Linked DNA regions of Homo sapiens: region 1 is linked to region 2. The links are contacts of gene promoters, found by promoter capture Hi-C in human tissues and cell types (Jung and others, 2019). All regions are on one chromosome and are shown on one strand. Each heading gives the region's core, a stretch centred on a gene start or on the middle of the fragment in contact. The rest is flanking DNA. Distances are from core to core; before and after follow the strand shown.

The links. The method cuts DNA at HindIII sites, captures the fragments that hold promoters and counts their contacts. A contact is called where the count stands out against the background at its distance.
Region 1: a contact is called between a fragment that was not itself captured here and the fragment with the promoter of CDC14A in region 2, in 1 of the 25 tissues and cell types used here (aorta).

Annotation. Positions count from the first base shown.
Region 1 is chr1:100,199,494-100,205,494 of GRCh38, reverse strand. All of the region lies in intron 10 of DBT (dihydrolipoamide branched chain transacylase E2), which reads left to right. Among named protein-coding and RNA genes, the nearest start is that of LRRC39, 24 kb to the right of the region's middle. RefSeq lists an enhancer at 4,561-5,398. The HindIII fragment of the contact is 5,861 bases long and covers 1-4,243 here.
Region 2 is chr1:100,349,307-100,354,524 of GRCh38, reverse strand. CDC14A (cell division cycle 14A) reads right to left here and starts at 2,019. Exons shown (of 16, transcript NM_003672.4): 1 at 1,522-2,019; 2 at 673-763. The coding sequence starts at 1,570. RefSeq lists enhancers at 893-1,142, 1,183-1,492, 2,743-2,792, 2,833-3,262 and silencers at 2,073-2,122, 2,153-2,242. The HindIII fragment of the contact is 17,975 bases long and covers 1-5,218 here.

The DNA.
Region 1 (6,001 bases), core at 64-2,563, 150 kb after region 2:
AGTGTAAAAGCGTTTCTATCTCTCTATATTCTCTCCAGCATCTGTTATTTCCTGCCTTTTTAATGATTGCCATTGTAACTGGCATGGTATCTCATTGTAGTTTTGATTTGCATTTCTCTAATGACCAGTGATCATGGGCTTTTTTTCATATGTTTGTTGGCCATATAAATGTCTTCTTTTGAAAAGTGTCTGTTCATATCCTTCGCCCACTTTATGATGGGTTGTTTGTTTTTTTCTTGTAAATTTGTTTAAGTTCCATGTAGATTCTGGATATTAGCCCTTTGTCAGATAGATAGATTGCAAAAATGTTCTCCCATTCTGTAGGTTGCCTGTTCTCTCTGATGATAGTTTCTTTTGCTGTGCAGAAGCTCTTTAGTTTCATTACATCTGATTTGTCAATTTTGGCTTTGTTGCAATTGCTTTTGGTGATTTAGTCATGAAGTCTTTGCCTATGCCTATGTCCTAAATGGTATTGCCTAGGTTTTCTTCTAGGGTTTTTATGGTTTTAGGTCTTACATTTCAGTCTTTAATCCATCTTGAGTTAATTTTTGTATAAGGTGTAAGGAAGGGGTCCAGTTTCAGTTTTCTGCATATGGCTAGCCAGTTGTCCCAACACCATTTATTAAATAGGGAATCCTTTCCGCATTGCTTGTTTTTGTCAGGTTTGTCAAAGATCAGATGGGTTGTAGATGTGTGGTGTTATTTCTGAGGCCCCTGTGCGGTTCCATTGGTCTATCTCTCTGTTTTGGTACCATTACCATGCTGTTTTGGTTACTGTAGCCTTGTAGTATAGTTTGAGGTCAGGTAGCATGATGCCTCCAGCTTCCTTCTTTTTGTTTAGGATTATCTTGGCTATGTGGGCTTTTTTTTTGGTTCCATATAAAATTTAAAGTAGTTTTTTCTAATTCTGTGAAGAAAGTCAATGGTAGCTTGATGGGAATAGCATTGAATCTATAAATTACTTTGGGCAGTTTGGCCATTTTCACAATATTGATTCTTCCTATCCATGAGCATGGAATGTTTTTCCATTTGTTTGTGTCCCCTTGTATTTCCTTGAGCAGTGGTTTGTAATTCTCCTTGAAGAGGTCCCTCACATCCCTTGTAAGTTGGATTCCTAGGTATTTTATTCTCTTTATAGCAATTGTGAATGGGAGTTTCCTCATGATTTGGCTCTCTGTTTGTCTGTTATTGGTGTATAGGAATGCTTGTGATTTTTGCACATTGATTTTGTATCCTGAGACTTTGCTGAAGTTGCTTATCAGCTTAAGGAGATTTTGGGCTGAGCCGATGGGGTTTTCTAAATATACAATCATGTCATCTGCAGACAGAGATAATTTGACTTCCTCTCTTCCTATAGAATATGCTTTATTTCTTTCTCTTGTCTGATTGCCCTGGCCAGAACTTCCAATACTATGTTGAATAGGAGTGGTGAGAGAGAGGGCATCCTTGTCTTGTGCCAGTTTTCAGAGGGAATGCTTCCAGCTTTTGCCCATTCAGTATAATATTGGCTGTGGGTTTATCATAAATAGCTCTTATTATTTTGAGATATGTTCCATCAATACCTAATTTATTGAGTGTTTTTAGCATGAAGGGGTGTTAAATTTTATCCAAGGCCTTTTCTGCATCAATTGAGATAATCATGTGGTTTTTGTCATTGGTTCTGTTCATGTGATGGATTATGTTTATTGATTTGCACATGTTGAACCAGCCTTGCATCCTAGGGATGAAGCCGACTTGATTGTGATGGATAAGCTTTGTAATATGCTGCTGGATTCGGTTTGCCAGTGTTTTATTGAGGATTTTGGCATTGATGTTCATCAGGGATATTGGCCTGAAATTTTCTTTTTGTGTGTGTGTCTCTGCCAGGTTTTGGTATCAGGATGATGCTGGCCTCATAAAATGAGTTAGGGAGGATTCCCTTTTTTTCTGTTGTTTGGAATAGTTTCAGAAGGAATGGTACCAGCTCCTCTTTGTACCTCTGGTAGAATTTGGCTGTTAATCTATCTGGTCCTGGGCTTTGTTTGGTTGGTAGGCTATTAATTACTACCTCAGTTTCAGAACTTGTTATTGGTCTATTCAGGGAGTCGACTTTTTCCTGATTTAGTCTTGGGAGGGTGTATGCGTCCAGCAATTTATCCATTTCTTCTAGATTTTCTAGTTTATATGTGAAGAGGTGTTTATAGGATTCTCTGATGGTAGTTTGTATTTCTGTGAGATCAGTGGTGATATCCCCTTTATCATTTTTTATTGTGTCTATTTGATTCTTCTCTCTTTTCTTCTTTATTAGTCCAGCTAGCAGTCCATCAATTTTGTTAATCTTTTCAAAAAACCGGCTCCTGGATTCATTGATTTTTTTGAAGGGTTTTTTTGTGTCTCTGTCTCCTTCAGTTCTGCTCTGATCTTGTTTATTTCTTGTCTTCTGCTAGCTTTTGAACGTGTTTGCTCTTGCTTCTCTAGTTCTTTTAACTGTGATGTTAGGGTGTTGATTTTAGATCTTTCCTGCTTTCTTCTGTTGGCATTTATTTCTGTGGGAAATTTATAGTGCTATAAATTTCCCTCTACACATACTTTAGCTGTGTTCCAGAGATTCTGGTACGTTGTGTCTTTGTTCTCATTGGTTTCAAAGAACATCTTTATTTCTGCCTTCATTTCATTATTTACCCAGCAGTCATTCAAGAGCAAGTTATTTAGTTTCCATGTAGTTGTGTGGTTTTGAGTGAGTTTCTTAACCCTGAGTTCTAATTTGATTGCACTGTGGTCTGAGAGACTGCTTGTTATTGTTTCCATTCTTTTGCATTTGCTGAGGAGAGTTTTACTTCCAATTGTGTGTACGATTTTAGAATTAGTGCTATGTGGTGCTGAGAAGAATGTATATTCTGTTGATTTGGGGTGGAGAGTTCTGTCGATGTCTATTAGGTCCGCTTGGTCCAGAGCTGAGTTCAAGTCCTGAAGATGCTTGTTAATCTTCTGTCTCATTGTTCTGTCTAATGTCTAATGTTCTGTCTAATGTTGACAGTGGGGTGTTAAAGTCTCCCATTATTATTGTGTGGAAATCTAAGTCTCTTTGCCAGTCTCTAAGAACTTGCTTTATGAATCTGGATGCTCCTGTATTGGGTGCATATATATTTAGGATAGTTAGCTATTCTTGTTGCATTGATCCCTTTACCATTATGTAATGCCCTTGTCTTTTTTTTATCTTTGTTGGTTTAAAGTCTGTTTTATCAGAGACTAGGATTGCAACCCCTGCTTTTTCTTTTTTTTTGCTTTCCACTTGCTTGGTAAATCTTCCTCCATCCCTGTATTTTGAGCCTATGTGTGTCTTTGCACATGAGATGGGTCTCCTGAATACAGCACATTGATGGGTCTTGACTCTTTATCCAGTTTGCCAATCTGTGTCTTTTAATTGAGGCATTTAGCCCATTTACATTTGAAGTTAATATTGTTATATGCAAATTTGATCCTGTCATTATGATGACAGCTGGTTATTTTGCCTGTTAGTTGATGCAGTTTCTTCATAGTGTCGATGGTCTTTACATTTTGGGTTGCTTTTGCAGTGGCTGCTACCAGTTGTTCCTTTCCATGTTTAGTGCTTCCTTCAGGAGCTCTTGTAGGGCAGGCCTGGTGGTGACAAAATCTGTCAGCATTTGCTTGTCTCTAAAGGATTTTATTTCTCCTCCACTTATGAAGCTTAGTTTAGCTGGATATGAAATTCTGGGGTGAAAATTCTTTTCTTTAAGAGTGTTCAATATTGGCCCCCACACTCTTCTGGCTTGTAGAGTTTCTGCCGAGAGATCCACTGTTAGTCTGATGGGCTTCCCTTTGTGGGTAACCCGACCTTTGTCTCTGGTTGCCCTTAACATTTTTTTCCTTCATTTCAACCTTGGTGAATCTGACAATTATGGATCTTGGGGTTGCTCTTCTCGAGGAGTATCTTTGTGGTGTTTTCTGTATTTCCTGAATTTGAATGTTGGCCTATCTTGCTAGTTCGGGGAAGTTTTCCTGAATAGTATCCTGAAGTGTGTTTTCCAACTTGTTTCCATTCTCCCTGTCATTTTCAGGTACACCAATCAAACGTAGTTTTGGTCTTTTTCACATAGTCTCATATTTCTTGAGGCTTTGTTCCTTCCTTCTCATTCTTTTTTCTCTAATCTTGTCTTCATGCTTTATTTCATAAAGTTGATCTTCAATCTCTGATATCCTTTCTTCCGCTTGATCGATTCAGCTATTGATACTTGTGTATGCTTCACGAAGTTCTCATGCTGTGTTTTTCACCTCCATCAGGTCATTTATGTTCTTCTCTAAACTGGTTATTCTAGTTAGCAATTCCTCTAACCTTTTATCAAGGTTCCTAGCTTCCTTGCATTGGGTTAGAACATGCTCCTTTAGCTCGGAGGAGTTTGTTATTACCTGAAGCCTACTTGTGTCAGTTCATCAAACTCATTCTCTGTCCAGTTTTGTTCCCTTGCTGGCGAGGAGTTGTGATCCTTTGGAGGAGAAGAGGCGTCCTGGTTTTTGGCATTTTCAGCCTTTTTATGCTGGTTTTTCCTCATCTTTATGGATTTATCTACCTTTGATCTTTGCTGTTGGTGACCTTTGGATGGAGTTTTTGCATGGTCGTCCTTTTTGTTGATGTTGATACTATTCCTTTCTGTTTGTTAGTTTTTCTTCTAACAGTCAGGCCCCTCTTCTGCAGGTCTGCTGGAGTTTGCTGGGGGTCCATTCCAGACCCTGTTTGCCTGGGTATCACCAGTGGAGGCTGTAGAACAGCAAAGATTGCTGCCTGCTTCTTCCTCTGGAAGCTTCATCCCAGAGGGGCACCTGCCAGATGCCAGCGAGAGCTCTCCTGTATGAGGTGTCTGTCATTCCCTGCTGGGAGGTGTCTCCCCGTCAGGAGGCATGGGGGTCAGAGACCCACTTGAGGAGGCAGTCTGTCCCTTAGCAGAGCTCAAGCGCTATGCTGGGAGATCCACTGCTCTTTTCAGAGTCGGCAGGCAGGAAGGTTTAATTCTGCTGAAGCTGCGCCCACAGCCACCCCTTCCCCCAGGTGCTCTGTCCCAGGGAGATGGGAGTTTTATCTATAAGCCCCTGACTGGTGCTGCTGCCTTTCTTTCAGAGATGCCTGCCCAGAGAGGAGGAATCTAGAGAGGCAGTCCGGATACAGTGGCTTTGCTGAGCTGCAGTGGGCTCTGCCCAGTTCGAACTTCCCTGTGGCTTTATTTACACTGTGAGGGGAAGACCGCCTACTCAAGCCTCAGTAATGGCTGACACCCCTCCCCCCACCAACCTCCAGCATCCCAGGTCGACTTCAGACTGCTGTGCTGGCAGCGAGAATTTCAAGCCAGTGGATCTTAGCTTGCTGGGCTCCGTGGGGTTGGAATCCACTGAGCAAGACCACTTGGCTCCTTGGCTTCAGCCTCCTTTCCAGGGGAGTGTCTCTCACAGTTCTGTCTTACTGGTGTTCCAGGCATCACTGGGGTATGAAAAAAAAAACAAAACTGCAGCTAGCTTGGTGTCTGCCCAAACGGCCTCCCAGTTTTGTGCTTGAAACTCAGGGCCCTTGTGGAGTAGGCATCCGAGGGAATATCCTGGTCTGTCGGATGCAAAGACCATGGGAAAAGCATAGTATCTGGGCTGGATAGCACCATCCCTCACAGCACGGTCCCTCATGGCTTCCCTTGGCTAGGGGAGGGAGTTCCCTGACCCCTTGCGCCTCCCAGGTGAGGCGACGCCCCATCCTGCTTCTGCTGGCCCTCCATGGGCTGCACCCACTGTCTAACCAGTCCCAATGAGATGAACCGGGTACCTCAGTTGGAAATGCAGAAATCACCTGCCTTCTGCCTTGGTCTCACTGGGAGCTGCAGACCGGAGCTGTTCCTGTTCTGCCATCTTGCCTGGGAATCCAAAAACCTATTACTTCTTCCTAAGAGCTAGGCCGGCACTTCTGGTGGCTGCCTCTGTGTGTAATAAATGGTGGCGATCTGGGTTGTTTCTGTATGGATCA
Region 2 (5,218 bases), core at 770-3,269:
CTACTTTTATTTTACACTCTCAAATCCTAATCCCACAGAAGCAAAGTAATCAAAGAAAATAAATCAGCACTGCTATATCATTTCCTTAGAAGCAAAGAAAATAATATCAAAAAGTTTGGGGTACCCAAATAAAAGAATCAATAATATGTCAGATAAAATGTTAGTCATAAATGTGACTCTGATACAGCTCCCCGCAGTTAATGTGTCCCACTTTCTGAAAAAGAGCTGCACAAACAAAAACATCCTGAGATAGAACAGAAGTCTTGTAAACTATAAAGCTCAAGCACCTGTAATACATGCACTGCCCTGTACCCTATGGCCACTCCATAAATACTTAGTGACTGATTCACAGGCCAATTACTGAGTCTGGCAATGACAGTGTGTCTCCCTGGTCCTACTCTGGGGAATGTTAGGAATCTCCAGTTGCTGTTTGTTGTGGTGGTAGGAAGAACTAAAACAGATAGATGTCTAAAAGAACTGAAGTGTTGAAAGGTTCAAATTCTGTCAATTTTCTCTGAACTTCTCCCCAGGCACCTGAGTCTTAAAAAATTGATATTGTTACTCGTATCATTGGGGGGGAAATGAATAAAACTGCCATAAAAGTGCATAGTGTTTCCTCGTCAAAGAACAAGCTGAATGGCCAAGAGAAAAAAAAACAAAACATAAACTTACTTTTCATAGACCAGCTCCTCATCGATGGAGAAATAGTGGGTATTTACTGTGCTTTTTGGTCTATTCCTTAAAGTAGCAAAATATAACCGATCTGAAAGACAAGTTTAAAAGACAGAAAAAACATATGAGAAGTAGAGAAGTGGAAGTGAAGGTGGGTGGTAACATACGAAGGATCACAATTTAAAGACCCCATTAACACGTGGAATTCTTGCAGAAACCTCATCCCTCCCAGAAAGCTAGAGACTCAAGAGCACAACAGTTAGGCAAGAGGAGGACCTGACCGAGGAACTCAGCGGGGCTCAGAGCACCCACATTTCCCTTGTTTCAGGCCAGCAGAGTAGGCAGGAGCTGGGGGTACCCGCAGAACTGGAGGTGCAAGTTTGGTTCCCAAATCTCCAGACCTCAGCAGCTGCGAGAAGGGGAAGAAAGAGGTGAGCCTCCCGACGCAGCTTCGGAGATTTGAAAAAGAGGAAGGGAGAGAGACTTGGGGGGTGTGGTTGGGGGTGTCCCGAAAACCGAAGCCTGCGATGGTGGAGTAAAGGTGACCGGTGAGCATCCGGAGCAGGCTCCCCATGAGCTGCTGAGTGCCGGAGTACGGGCAGAAGCCGGTGCTGTCCCATTACGAGGCCGAGAGGCCATCCGAGGGAGCTGCAGAGGGAGCAAGGGACACAAGAAAGAGAAGCCGGAAGCAGGGGGTCCTCGGAGAAAGGAGAGTCCCTAGAGGGGACGAGAGCGCGCGCAGCGGCTGCAGGACACTGGCAGCCTCAGGAGAAGGTGGGGACAGTGGCGCGGGAAGTGAAGAGTTGGGGGCAAGAAAGCGTTGGAAGATGCGGGGCGGCTGCTCCTCACCTTTCATGAACTCACAAGCCCCGATTAGTTCCCCTGACTCCGCTGCCATCTTAAGCGAGATACGCACGGGGGAGGGCTGGGTCGTGGCCAGCTGAAGTCACTCGCCCCCGGGGGCTTCCCCACTGCCCAGGAGCCAGGAAGCTCACAGTCCCGAACAACAAGCCTGGCCGAGGGAGGCAGCAGGCGCCGAAGGCGGAGGCGGCTTCGGGGTCAGCGCGCCGGGCGCCCCGGGGACATTCCGAGGGGAACCCGAGCTCGCTCCGCGCGGGGCGCTCACGCCCCTGGCTGTGGCCGCTCCTATTTGGACTCGGCTGCTGCAGCTGCTGCTCCGCCGCCGCCGCGCCTGGGAAACGCAGACCAGCTCTCAGGGCAGGGCAAAGTCTTCCCCCGGCTTCCAAAGTGATCATGGAGGAGGAGACTTCTGGTCCCGATCGCGCCCGTGGCTACTCGAGCGGCAGCCGGGAGGACTTCAGTGCCCGCGGGCTGGCAGCAGCTGCTCCGGATCCTCCTTCGCCACCTCCTTTCAGCAGTTACTCTTCCTCCTCCTCCTCCCCCTGGGTCCGCCCCCAGACCTTCCTCCCCGCCCTCCCTCAGCCCCCTCCACTTTCACGACTCCGCGGCCATCCCTTAAAGGGACAGCCCCGCTCCTTTCTCCGCAGCAGCCCCAGTTACCAGGCGCCCCGCGGGTCACTAGGAGCCGGTTGCTAAGGCTTTGTTGCCGTCCACCAATTGCTGTTCAGGAAACGGGGCCCTCGGCCCAGGGGAGCGGGCGGGGCCTGTAGGCCAGAAACTTATGAATGAAACGGCGGGGTTGAGAGTGGACATCGCCAAAGGCGCTGTCGCGGCCTCGGAGGCTAGGATGTGCTGGCGCCCCCTTTCTTTTCTGCACCCTCTAAGTCTTGTCCCACTCCAGATTTCTTTTCTCTCTCTCTCTCATTCTCTTTCTTTCTCGCCCACTCACCCATGCTCTTCTAAACTCTTGTAGGGCGCGCGCGCGCGCACACACACACACACACACACACACACACACTCGTAAAAACCTCAGATCTCCGTGCCCTGCCTCGCCTCTAGCTAACATTTCAGCCACCCCCCACGCCCAACACTGAGGGGGTCTGCATCTTTATAAAAAATACAATTGAAAAAGAAGCACCAGCTCCTAGCTCACAGTACATGTATTGGTTTCCTCTACACATACCAGACTCTGATATAACTTGTACTTTGTTCTCACGGGACAAAAAGTTTCCCATCTGGTTCTCCACGCCCTCTCATCTGGGCCGCCAATGTGAGCGCAAAAGCATCACAGATGCCTAATCTTTACAGTGCTCCGGTCCCGGAGGGGCGGGGCGAGACCGCTGAGCCAGCCTGGGCGGGCGCGGAGGGAACAGGAGAGAGAGGAGAGTCCACTGGTCCAAGGAGGAAGGTTAACACAAAGGAATTTCTTTACATAGTCTCAGCTGAAGCGCTCCAGGCAGGAGTCCCGCTAAAAGAGGCCATTGACTTGTCTCTGCGAGGCTCTACGTACTGTTTGAACAACTTGAACGCTGGGCGTCCTAAGGCTGTACCTAATCAGAGTGCAGTCCCTTCCATACGAAAATGGCGCTACAGACCGACTATCCGAAGAGCATGCGCTCTGAGAGGTCTCTCCAGAAACAGCAAGAAACTTGTGGCGGCGTTTTCCTTCGCAGTCGCTTGTTGACCTCTAGGGAGAAAGGGGGCGCACCCGTGCAGAGCTGACTGAGGGAACCAGCCCTTCGAGGGCCAATTGCAGGTTTTGTTTGTGGTTTTTTTTTTTTTAATGTGTGTTTTGTTTTAGACAGGGTCTCGCTCTGTCACCCAGGCCGGAGTGCGGTGGCTCAATCTCTGCTCACTGCAATCTCCACCTCCCGAGTACAAGCGATTCTCGTGCCTCATTCTCCCAAATAGTTGGATCTACAGGCGTGCGCCACCACACCCGGCTAATTTTTGTATTTTTTGTAGAGACCGGGTTTTGCCATGTTGGCCAGGCTCGTCTCCAGTTCCTGAGCACAAGCAATCCGCCCTGCCTTGGCCTGCCACAGCGCTGGGATTACAGGCTGAGCCACCGCGCCAGGCCTCAAATTATTTTATTGAAAAAAAATCTAGTATTTCTTATATGAAAGATAGGGAAAAACAAAGTATATGAATCTCTCGATAAACTTGCCCACTTTGTTTAAAAGGCTAAATAAATCCAAAGATGTTGTTGTATTTCCGAAGATGCTGATTTAAAATTCTTGCATAATCTAAATTCAAATTCCCCAACAATTTTTCATTAAAAAGTGCGTTAGAAATAGAAGTCAGAGTTCTCATTCAGTTCATAAACTTTTAATTGCACAAAGTAAATAGTCTAATGAACTCCAATCTACACTTTCAGAGAAGCCAGATATAGTTGAACACCTTCTTGTTATTTTCCAAAATGAATTTACAAAAATCTTTTATATAACTCTCCTGCTTAAAATTGTGATCATGAGGAATGAATTATGACCTAACAAATACAAGTCCTTAAATTCAAATGAAAATGTTTATTTTTCCTTAGCATTTTTACAAAGATAATAAAACTCTGTAAGTAATTAATGTTTTTTAAAATATTGCATGGGGCTGGTCATGGTGGCTCACACCTGTAATTACAGCACTTTGGGAGGCCAAGGCCTGCGGATCACCTGAGGTCAGGAGTTCAAGACCATCCTGGCCAACATGGCGAAACCTTGCCTCTACTTAAAAAAATACAAAACTTGTCTGGGCGCGGTGGCTCATGCCTGTAATCCCAGCACTTGGGGAGGCCGAGGCAGGTGGATCACCTGAGGGCAGGAGTTCGAGACCAGCCTGGCCAACATGGTGAAACCCCCAACTCTACTAATAATACAAAAAAATTAGCCAGGAATGGTGGCACACACCTGTAATCCCAGCTACTAGGGAGGCTGAGGCAGAAGAATGGCTTGAACCTGGGAGGCGGAGGTTGCAGTGAGCCAAGATCGCATCATTGTGCTACAGCCTGGGTGACGAGCAAAACTATGTTTCAAAAAAAAAAAAATACAAAACTTAGCCGGGTGTGGTGGCACACGCCTGTAATCCCAGCTACTCGGGAGGTTGCAGTGAGCCGAGATAGTGCCACGGCACTCCAGCCTGGGCGACAGAGAAAGACCCCGTCTCAAAAAAAAATTAGCCAGATGTGGTGGCGGGCACCTGCAATCCCAGCTACTCATGAGGCCGAGGCGGGAGAATGGCTTGAACCGGGAGGCAGAGGTTTCAGTGAGCTGTGATTACGTGATTATGCCACTGCACTCCAGCAGTGCAGTGTCTCTGGGTGACAGAGTGAGACCCTGTCTCAAACAAACAACAACAAAATTGCATGGAAGGAAGTGTCAGTATAATCAAATCTCTCTAAGCCATTCTAAATGGTATAGAAAATTCTACAAGAAAAATATGAACTAGATAATGCACACACAGCACACGTATAATACATACCAAGGTTCTAATGAGATCATAAAAACACTTTATTCTCTCAGTTATCCTGAGGTCAAAGTTCCTGTTGGTTGTAGTTTCATAATAAAGGCATACTTTTACAGTCTACAAGGGAAGATAATGGAAGAAAATTTTCCAACCACGAAACTTGATATAAACTTAAGGAATGGACTTTTAAGAAACAATAAAGGCGTTTCACATATAAAGGAAATACTAAGAG